Regions from separate parts of the Homo sapiens genome. Here regions 1 and 2 are each linked to region 3. Evidence: promoter capture Hi-C in 16 types of primary human blood cells and fetal thymus (Javierre and others, 2016). All regions are on one chromosome and are shown on one strand. The core of a region is centred on a gene start or on the middle of the fragment in contact, and the rest is flanking DNA. Distances in the headings are between cores, read along the strand shown. Region 1 overlaps TTC21B (tetratricopeptide repeat domain 21B). Region 2 holds the start of LOC100506124 (a long non-coding RNA gene). Region 3 holds the start of CSRNP3 (cysteine and serine rich nuclear protein 3).

Evidence for each region. Contacts are between HindIII fragments. The CHiCAGO score rates a contact against its expected background, and 5 or more counts as called.
Region 1: a contact is called between a fragment that was not itself captured here and the fragment with the promoter of CSRNP3 in region 3, in 1 of 17 cell types (total B cells). The highest score is 5.9, in total B cells.
Region 2: a contact is called between a fragment that was not itself captured here and the fragment with the promoter of CSRNP3 in region 3, in 2 of 17 cell types (naive B cells and M0 macrophages). The highest score is 9.5, in naive B cells.

The regions. Positions count from the first base shown.
Region 1 is chr2:165,893,490-165,896,781 of GRCh38, forward strand. The region is part of intron 22 of TTC21B (tetratricopeptide repeat domain 21B); the gene reads right to left. Among named protein-coding and RNA genes, the nearest start is that of TTC21B-AS1, 39 kb to the right of the region's middle. The HindIII fragment of the contact is 5,279 bases long and covers 1-3,292 here.
Region 2 is chr2:165,871,070-165,874,381 of GRCh38, forward strand. It overlaps TTC21B (tetratricopeptide repeat domain 21B), which reads right to left. Exons shown (of 29, transcript NM_024753.5): 29 at 2,293-3,312. It overlaps LOC100506124 (a long non-coding RNA gene), which reads right to left and starts at 872. Exons shown (of 4, transcript NR_045375.2): 1 at 1-872. The HindIII fragment of the contact is 880 bases long and covers 1,567-2,446 here.
Region 3 is chr2:165,467,689-165,471,004 of GRCh38, forward strand. CSRNP3 (cysteine and serine rich nuclear protein 3) reads left to right here and starts at 2,010. Exons shown (of 7, transcript NM_001172173.2): 1 at 2,010-2,052. The HindIII fragment of the contact is 3,341 bases long and covers 1-2,199 here.

The DNA.
Region 1 (3,292 bases), core at 176-2,675, 430 kb after region 3:
TTACATTCACTTGTCTTTGGTTAACCATGACATTTGACAGAAGGCAAATTTCTGCACTTAAGAAATGTATTAAAAACTAAAATGTATATTACCTTCTAAAAAACTTAGCTGGTCCATCTTTATTGATGAATAGTAGGAAGATATCAAAATAGTTATAGGGTGATGAGATGTGGCAAGCATGCAGTGCTATGGTATGGTATTACAAAGCACAGGATTCTTAACTTTGCCTGGAGGAGTTGGGAAATTTCACATAGGAGTTGACCTTTGAGCAGCCTCAAGGATAGGAGGAAGATCTTACTAGACGGACAAAGGCATTCCAAGTAGCAGAAGGCATGCGCCAAGAGGGAAGCAGAGAACAGTGTGGGGAGTGTTGGTAACTTTGATATTATTAAAGCGGAGGAAGAAGGATAAGAAATATAAATGGCCAAATAATTTGCGGCCATATTATTATTAAAATAATGCTATGATTTTAGACTTTATCCTGAAGCACTAACTTAAATTTTAAGCAAAGGGTAGGTTTTGATTTTTAGAACTGATATGCTAGTCCTATGATGACCTGGAGCAGCCAGAACCTAGAAGCTGGAAGATGAGTTGGGAATCTGCACTAGTTCAGATGAGAGGTGATAAGGGTCTTCATTAGAGCAGTGGGTTAGGATACGACAGACTGGATGTGTTAGCTAGCTATCAAGCAAACAGAGCTGAGGAGACATGTTAACCAATTAGTATGAAGGAAGGGGAAAGCTCAAGGCGATCTGGAGATTCTGAGAGAGAAAAGGGGCAATCTGTCGTGAGAGCAGTAATTAGATCTAGAAGAGGAATTTTTCAACTACTTAAATTAGGTCAAATTTGTATGGTACATTTCTGAAATAAGCTAAAATAGAGCCTTAATCTAAAGTACAAGATGAGTTACTGAGGATAACCAATAATGTACACATAAAATGAACGGAGATGCATGTTTTAGAGTAATTCCAACAAAATAGATCTGTGGATAAGTATGTAAGGTACTAGTAAGAATAAAGCATACAACACAAGATTAAAAACTCTTAAGATTAAAAATATCACATAGACAATAAAAATTTACTTAAAATTTTGTGGTTGTTTTTGAGACCAAGTCTCACTCTGTCACCGAGGCTGGAGTGCAGTGGTGTGATCTTGGCTCACGGCAACCTCCACCTCCCAGGTTCAAGCGATTCTCCTGCTGTGTTTTTAATTGACTTGGTGTTTTACAGTCATTCACTGATCCATTCAACCAATAAACATCTATGTTGCCACATCCATGTGTGTGGCATTTTGTCTGATATTGGGAATATGGTGTGATCCCTGAACTCGAGGAGTCTACAGTGTAATAAAGAACACAAATATGCACATAAATATTTTTAGTAAAATACTATAAGTAATAAAGACGTATGGACAAAGTAACCGAGGATTAGGGTTACCAACTCATCCCAGTTTGCCTGTGACTTTCTGTTAGCATGGGAAGTCCTGCATCCAGGAAAACCCTTTGCTCCGAGGCAAATCTAGGATGGTTGGTCATGCTACCCAGCACCACATAAGACATTTTTTAATGTAGGTGGTGGTAGTGGGATGCAGATTTACTTTTTTATTTTCCCCCAAGAGGGATATATTTTAGATTATGTGTTTGGAAAGAGAAAAGGGATAAGGAAGCTAAAGTTCATTTTAGGCAAAAGGAAAAAACCCAAGCAAAGACTTGGAAGCATGGTTGTATGTCATTTGGTGTTGCTGGAGTACAAGATCCTTATATTGCATTTATAAAAAATTGCTTTTATATTTGTTTACAAACAGTCCAAAGCAGCCAGTCTACTAAGCCAATTTTTTTGGGAAAAAGGCTGCTGCCAAGCAACAGAAACTTACGTGAAACAAAACCCACAAGACACATGAAGACTTCTTCAAATCTTAGAAAACTATAATGTGTGAGATTCTTCAAATCTTAGAAAACTATAATACTTTTAATGACTTAAAATATTCACAGTGGAAGAAGTCTGTTTTTTAAAGAAATAAAGTTAGATCATTGTCTCAAAGGGAAAGACTGTGAAATGGGAACAGCTTGAGATAGAATGAATATATTATGTATATTACTTTTAAATGGTAGTTTAGAGAAGAGGAATAAGAGAAAACAGTGTGGAACACAAGGTAGAAATGGCAGGGAAAAAAACGATACAGGCCTGAAGAAAATAAAAGTAGGTTTGGGCAATGTGGGTGGCAAGATGAGCCCATATTTTGGACCCAGAGTGAGTGGAAGAGGTGAGATGGTCAAGTAGTTCACAGCATTCTTTTAAATAACATCTGAGTATACTCTGGAATAGACAGGGCAAAAAACAAATGAAATTGCCTGTGGTAGTCCCCATATTAAATAAATTTAATTTATTTAATTAAAAAACTCAAAGAGTAAAAATAATAAAGAGAAAGTGTTGATATTACTGTAAAAAACAGACCATATTTTCTCCTTTCAATTTTTGTGCTCGCTGGGGATATTTTATTTTTAAATACAAACTGATGTTCTCTAAATTCAAACATCTTTTTATTAAAAGCGTTACTAGAGGTAGCCTGCAGAGCATATCTAGTTCTTTGAGTTGCCCTGCTTGAAGGATTGCCACCTCTGTGTCTCTGAGGCTCTGAGCACAGATGCCTAGGGCATCAGCCTGAGATGAAGGTGGTGGGGTTTAGAAGAACTGAAACACAGCTCTAGGACTTCCTCTGCCATTTCAAACTCTTTTTAGTAACACAGGTAGTAACATACAGTCATGTATTAGTCAAACAGTTCCCACCTCTTTCTTTTTCTCTTTCCTCTCCTCCCTCCATCCCTGCTTCCCTTTCTTCCTTTTCTCCCTCACTCTTCTTTCCATCTAGTATTTGTTGAGTACTAACTAGGCCAGATATTCTTCTAAATTCTGGAAACACAGCAGTGAAGGACAACGTTTCTGGTCACTTGATGCTTCCATTCTATGATTTGTAGTTTTTTGCTTTTGTTTCACAAGGGCTACACAAAACCCAAAAATCCTAAAGCCAAACCCCAAAAACTCAACTGAACAGAAAACAGGATAAAGGGACAGAGAGCAAGAAGTGGTGCTACTTGATGTAGGCCAGTGAGGGAGGGGCATTCTAAGGAAGAAGCAGCACCAGAGCAAAGGCACAAAAGAAAATGAGGCAGCAGCCAGATAGACCTGTGGGAGCAGCATATTCCGGGAAGTAGAAACAGCAAACAAAAAGGCTCAAGGCTGTAATTGGCTTGGGCTTTTGCCTACCTAGTTTCTGTTGTCCCTTTCTTCTTTAC
Region 2 (3,312 bases), core at 757-3,256, 400 kb after region 3:
AAAGGATAATATGATACAGAATCACAGGATGGCTACTTGAGATTGTGGGCCTGGACATGAACACGGCCTCTTTGAGGAGGTGGTGATAAAGTGATACCTGATGGAAAGGAGCAAACCTGGAGAAGGAAGCTCAGAGACAGGAAGCGGGGGTGAAGGGAGGGACAGGAGGAAGAGAATTCTCCACTGAGGAGAGTAGGGCAAAAGCAAGCTCCAGGTGGATAAAATGAGATGCTGCATGTGGAGTCTAGCATAATGGTTGGTGGGTAGAGAGAGAGGAAAAGAGGGAAGTAGTTGAACAAAAATTAGAAGGGAAGGAAGGAGGGAAGGTGTGAATGAATGAGAATCTCAAATCCTGTAGGGCTGAGCTCTCTAGGGGACTTTACTCATCCTTTTAATCTTGCTTTGAACTGCATTTTCTCTTCTCAGTTGCAATTACTACTTTGCCCTGTTCTGCTTATAAGAGGAGCTACTATTAAGAGCCTAGTGAGTCAGATTCATTATAGGTTTTATATAAGTTCCCTTTAATCCTTACAACCTGAGGCAGGTTATTATCCTTATATGCTTGTTTATGGGTGAGAAAACTGAGGCTGAGAGTGTGTAACTTGGAGAAAGATGAAACATCTAGGTAATGGTAGAGCCAAAACTTAAATCCAGGCTGGTCTGATTTCAGATCCATGCTCTTGACTGCTACACTATAGTGCTCCTCAATTAGACTGCTCTTTAATAGTTTCTACATTTGTAACAGCTGTTCATTCCACTCAGTCCATCTTGTTCTTCATTATTTAGCTATCTCTGTGATACACCAGTTTCTTCTGCTAGCCAGATGTAGAAAAGATCACTTCTTCTTACAGAAACATTATCTCTTAGTTATAGAAGGCATCTTAATATAATAAATAAGGCAGAGGCTTTGAAGTTGACTGGGCCAGTATGGAATTCAGGTTCTGACACTTTTCTCTGTGACCCTGGGCAAATCATTTAGTCCAGGTCTCACCTTTCTTATCTGAAAAGTGGGAATATTATTTCTCTTAATAGCTGACTGAAAATTAAAAGACATAAAGTAAGGAAAGTCCCTAAAATAGCATCTAACAAATGGCAGGTGCAAAATAAATGGCTGCTTAAGAAACAAAAACAAAACCTTCCTCTCCTCTTACAGATAGGAAAACTGATTTGGAAATGTCTTGCTGAGAGAACAGATGCTCTATTTCTCTATCCAATTTCCATGATTCCAGCATCCCATGACACAAGTTCACTGGAACTACTAAAGGCATTCTGTTAATGTGATTTCTGCCTGAGTCAGCTCCGGCTGCAATAATAAAATATCATAAACTGGTGGGCTTATCAACAAAAGAAATCTGTTTCTCACAGTTCTGGAGGCTGGAAGTCTGAGATCACGGTTCCAGCACCACCAGGTTCTGGTGAGGACCCTCTTTTGGGTTGCAAATAGTTGACTTCTTATTTTGTCCTCACATGGTAGAAAGATAGCTAGAGAACTCTCTGGGATCCTCTTTTTAAGGGCACTAATCGCACTCGCAAGGGCTTCAGCCTTATGACCTAATTATTTCCTAAAGCTTCACTTCCCAATACTATCACATTAAAGACTAGGATGTCAACATACGAAGTTTGGGGTACACAAACATTCAGTCCATAGCATTGTCCTTAAAAATGTCCACTCAGGCTGAAAGATATTTCTCCACCTGAATTAAAGAAAAAGAGGTAATGTTTCACGATTCCAGATTTGTAAAACAGGGATAATAATGCCGGCATTTTAGGTTTGTGAAGATCAAATGTAAGGAATATGAAAGTATTTTAACATATATGAAGTGACTTATAAATTCTATTATTAAACATTCTATGAAATGCCATAAATAAAAGCTAGGTGACAAGGCGGCCAGATTACTTGAGGCCAGAAGTTCGAGACCAGCCTAGCCAACATGGCGAAACCCCATCTCTACTGCAGATACAAAAATTAGCCAGGCGTGGTGGCGTGTGCCTTTAGTCCCAGCTACTCAAGAAGCTGACGCAGGAGAATTGCTTGAACCCAGGAGGTAGAGGTTGCAGTGGGCCAAGATCGCACCACTGCACTCCAGCCTGGGCTACAGAGTAAGACTCTGTCTCAAAGAACAACAACAACAAAAAACCCCACAAAAAACTGTTTTGCTAAGTGAAAAGAAGAATAATTGGAATTTTATAACGTAATTGAAATTAAAGGGATTTTGAAAAATGGGAGAAATGATCAGAAACAAGAGAATGGAGTTCAAAACAAACACAGGACATTTAATAAAAAGCAGCAAATGACTTATAAATACTGTTTATTGTAAATGCAAATAAAATTGAGGACTGTGTTTACTACAATTTTAAGGAAAATTGAAAAAGATGTAGATGAGAAATTAAAAATAATGCTAAGGATTAAGTTTAGATTAGGTTAAATTTAGTGTAAGAGAGTGAAAGCTTCTATGCCAGGGTGCTGTTAAACAGAGCTGGGTAAACCGTTGCCTTCACATGGTGTGCTTTGTGACTCCCTGCTGACCAAAAGTATTTGGTCACCCTTTACCATCAAATGTTACAGTGTCTGAAATTATACCTGCAGACCAAGTCTTCTAGGCTAAGGTTAAATATCCCTAATAAGGGACCTATTTAAATTGAGGTTTCAGGACCTGATTATTTCTTAAGACCACAATGGCCTTGAAAGCAGGAAGAATGAGCTCAAGAAAGGAAAGGGAAACACACACTCTACCCTTTTCTAAAAAAGATTTTTCAATGAAAGTTACATTTTCTGTACTATACCACCACCCATTAACATTACAGAATGCAGGGGGAGCTTACCCTGATTTGCAAAACTTACCACATCTTTTGAGTTCCAAGAGGAATATAAATCATCTATTTATAAAACCTTTATTAAAATATATATTTAAAATATATATATTGTCTTTTTCATGAGTTATTTACAGGGAGATTTATTCCAATTTTTGAAACAACACAGAATACAACAAAAACAGGCTGGGTGCGGTGGCTCATGCCTGTAATCCCAGCACTTTGGGAGGCCGAGGCAGGTGGATCACAAGGTCAAGAGATCAAGCCCCTCCTGGCTAACACGGTGAAATCCCATCTCTACTAAAAATACAAAAAATTAGCCGGGTGTGATGGCACATGCCTTTAGTCCCAGCTACTCGGGAGGCTGAAGCAGGAGAATCGCGTAAACCCAGGAGGCGGAGGTTGCAGTGAGCCAAGATCGTGCCACTGCACTCCAGCCTGGGCGGCAGATCAAGGCTCTGTCTTTAAAAATAAATAAATAAATAAAAGAATATAACAAAA
Region 3 (3,316 bases), core at 760-3,259:
TGTATTGGGTTTGTTTTTCCACTGTTAAGTTTTATGAGTTCTTTATAAAATTTTTATATTAAACCCTTAGGGTGCTCATTTATTTTCATTACTTTAACCGAACCCTAGATGCTGGGGGTTCCAAATTGAACCTACATCCCAGCCTTATTTATGAGTTTAACTGACTATTTAATATTTTAATCTGGATATCCAAAAAGTTCAAAACGTTCAAATTAATTTTGTTATTTTGTTCCCAAATCTCTAAATCTCTCTTTTTTTTTTTTTTCTGAGACAATGGCATCATCATCTAAACAGAAGAAATCTGGTTAGAATTTGTGCCCTGCAAATACTTGCCTACAAGTCTCTGTCTACAATCACACTTGACATATAAATCACCTGGGAGAGCTTGCTAAAAATGCTGAGTCAGAAACTCCTCAAATGCTTATTCATTAAATCTGGAGGAGGCCCATGAACCTGCATTTTTAATGAATCTTCCCCTAGTGGTTCTGATGAAGATGGCCCCGAACAACTATTTCTAAAAATGCTGTCTGTCCTAGGGATTCCTCCAGTTATTCCTAGCAATAGGACCACAAAGGCTTTGAAAGCATTTTTCACAACAGAGGACTTGGCGGTGGGAATAAGCGATAGTTTAGTCTTCCCCATAATCTTTAGCAGAGCCTCCCAAAGCTACTCTAAATAACAGTGCAAACTAAGCAAAATCAGTGCACTCCTATCTAAAGTTAGTATCAGTTTAAGTCACCAGCCATTCCTTTCCTAACAATATTGACACCCCAAGCCCTTCCTGTACAGATATTCCTGGACTAATGATTTGCCACCATGCCAGTAACTCTTAAAGAATGCTTGCTTGCCCTTCCCTCTAATTTTACTCCCTTTGGCCTTATTCCCATGAGGACACATTACTGATTTAAGAAATTGAAGAGCAAGGCTTATAAATACCTCAAGTAGCCAGTACATACCTCTATAGTGGTGATATCTACTGTATATGTCTTTCTAAGGAAATTTTTCAGACCACCTCCACTAGAGGAAGCTCAATTGAGAGAATTTTTATCATAAAGATCCCTGGTTTGTATTACAGTATTTTAAAAATTAAACTGTTTGAAACTGGATGAATTTGCTTTATTGCCTTAAAAAATCCTAATTTGGTGTTTTCTTTAACTGTCCTTTAATGCATGTTATGCCTCTAGGTTCAGAAGTGAAATGATTTTTGTTTAAGTTTATTAGAATAAAATTGGAGTTCAGCTGGTCACTTTGAGGCATGGCAACCAAGTGACTGATCTCTTTTTAATCTTTAATAAGTTCCATTATTCACAAATTGATGGCATTTAAGGAATCTGAAGTAATGCAAACCACATAACTGTGAAATATTTGAATATTCTAATGCTCAGAATGAAATATTTTTCATACTGATTAGGCCTCGAAACTGCGTTTGAATGAAAACATTGTCAAACAGAGGTTGTAGTGCAAATAATATAAAACATAAGTATAAAGGGTGTTGATTCATTTTAATTCTATCTCTTTGCAAACTGAATATGCAAAATGTCATCTTGATGTTCAGTCTCCCTCCTCTGTCTGCATATCAAAATGTATAATGAGGAGGTACACTTTTTTCACTGAGAAAAATCAGTGGGAACTAAAAAACAGGCAATTTACCTAGGTTTTACTATGAGCATTTTGCTTTGATTTCAGGTAGGTGAGGCATTGATTAACTTTATTTTTCTAAATCCAAAGCAAGACTTTTTACTTCAGCTGAGGTCATCTGCAGACATTTTCCATAGTTGGGAGCTATTTTTTGAAATATCTTGCATCTCTGCTTTTCTCTCCATATTTCTTTTCTCCACTCGCTTCCTCTCTCCCAGCTGCAGGGATTCGTCCTCTAAAAGAGTGGAGGTGGGAGGGAACAAGAAATGGAAGCAAAGCAGGGAGCATGAGCTAGAGAATGCCAGGATCTGGCTTTTGTTATTGGTTGGCTGCCGCCTGATGGATAGACGAGGGAGGAGTGTACTCTCTTCAGTGTGTTCTGACGGAGCCGAAGTACAGAAACCATATTTACAGGTAAGAGCGAAAAATAAAAAAAAAGAAAAGAGAATTCTTTTTTTCTTTAAAAGAGAATGCTTCTTAATTTTTACGGAAACAATTTTATAGTAGGAAAATTATTCTGAGGACATTTTCTGAAAGTGTGTCCCTTTTATTACTTGAGGAAGCTTTGCAATGAGCTTGCTGTTCTTTCTCTCTGCAAAATCCTTAGCTGATTAAAAACAAAACAAAACAATCACCAGAGGCATGTCTTATCCTAAATAACTTTCTATGCAAGTGTCACTGAAGCAAAATTAATAGATAAAATGAATCATCATGTGTCTCTTCAAAAATGTTTAATTCAAGCTTGTTACTAGGAATCGCAGGAAGGATGAGAAAACCTCGGTAAATTCCACAGGTCCTGAGAAAATGGAGCCTTCTGTGAATATACAATATAAAATTTCATGTGATGGCTTTTAATATTGACAATACAGTAAAAGGCTTAGGAAAACTATTTTTGCAGGTTGTAGACTCTTTTAGCATTAATTTAGAATGAATGATTTGTGTGCATTTAAGCCCTGTTATTTAACTTACTCCTCTTGATAAATCTCATGTTGTTCAATATTTGCATTATTTTATTCAGCAAACTTTAAGCTTATGTGATAATTAAACAATGGTTTGTCTCTACTTGTTAACTTACATGGAGCCATTTTTATTTTAAAGCACAGAAACCTAATTTTGAAAGATTAAACATTGCTGTAAAAAATAGCATCTTAACAGTCATGTTTCATGGGTAGTTTAATTTATCAGTCAAACACATCTAGATAAGAATTCCATCAGAGCATTTATATTGTTGATAATATCTCTAGGCAATTTTTTTTTAGCAACTTTACTAGGTGCTTGTATCTCCTAATATGGTCCTTTATATTGCCTTAGGGAAAAAAGGGACAAGTTCTAAGTATGTAGAATAAATAACACACTTGCAGTAAAAACATACAAAAAAACTGAACTCCCAGTCACTTAATTCTTTACTTTAATTCATAAATACAGGTCATTTAACGGTGGTAGAACCTCATTAAAATTGAACTTTCAAGAATTATGACTGACTTCAGTACACTGGCCATCGATTAATACCTGTTGATTATAATAATAAAATAAAAGTCTTTCAATGAGGTAAATAATTTGTTCCTACATATTTTAATACCTTTTTGAATGAATCAAAACTAATAGGAATGACTATATAATTTCTAAATATTTTTTGCTATTGTTTTTCTTTTTGTTTATTGTTTTTCAAATTTTTTTA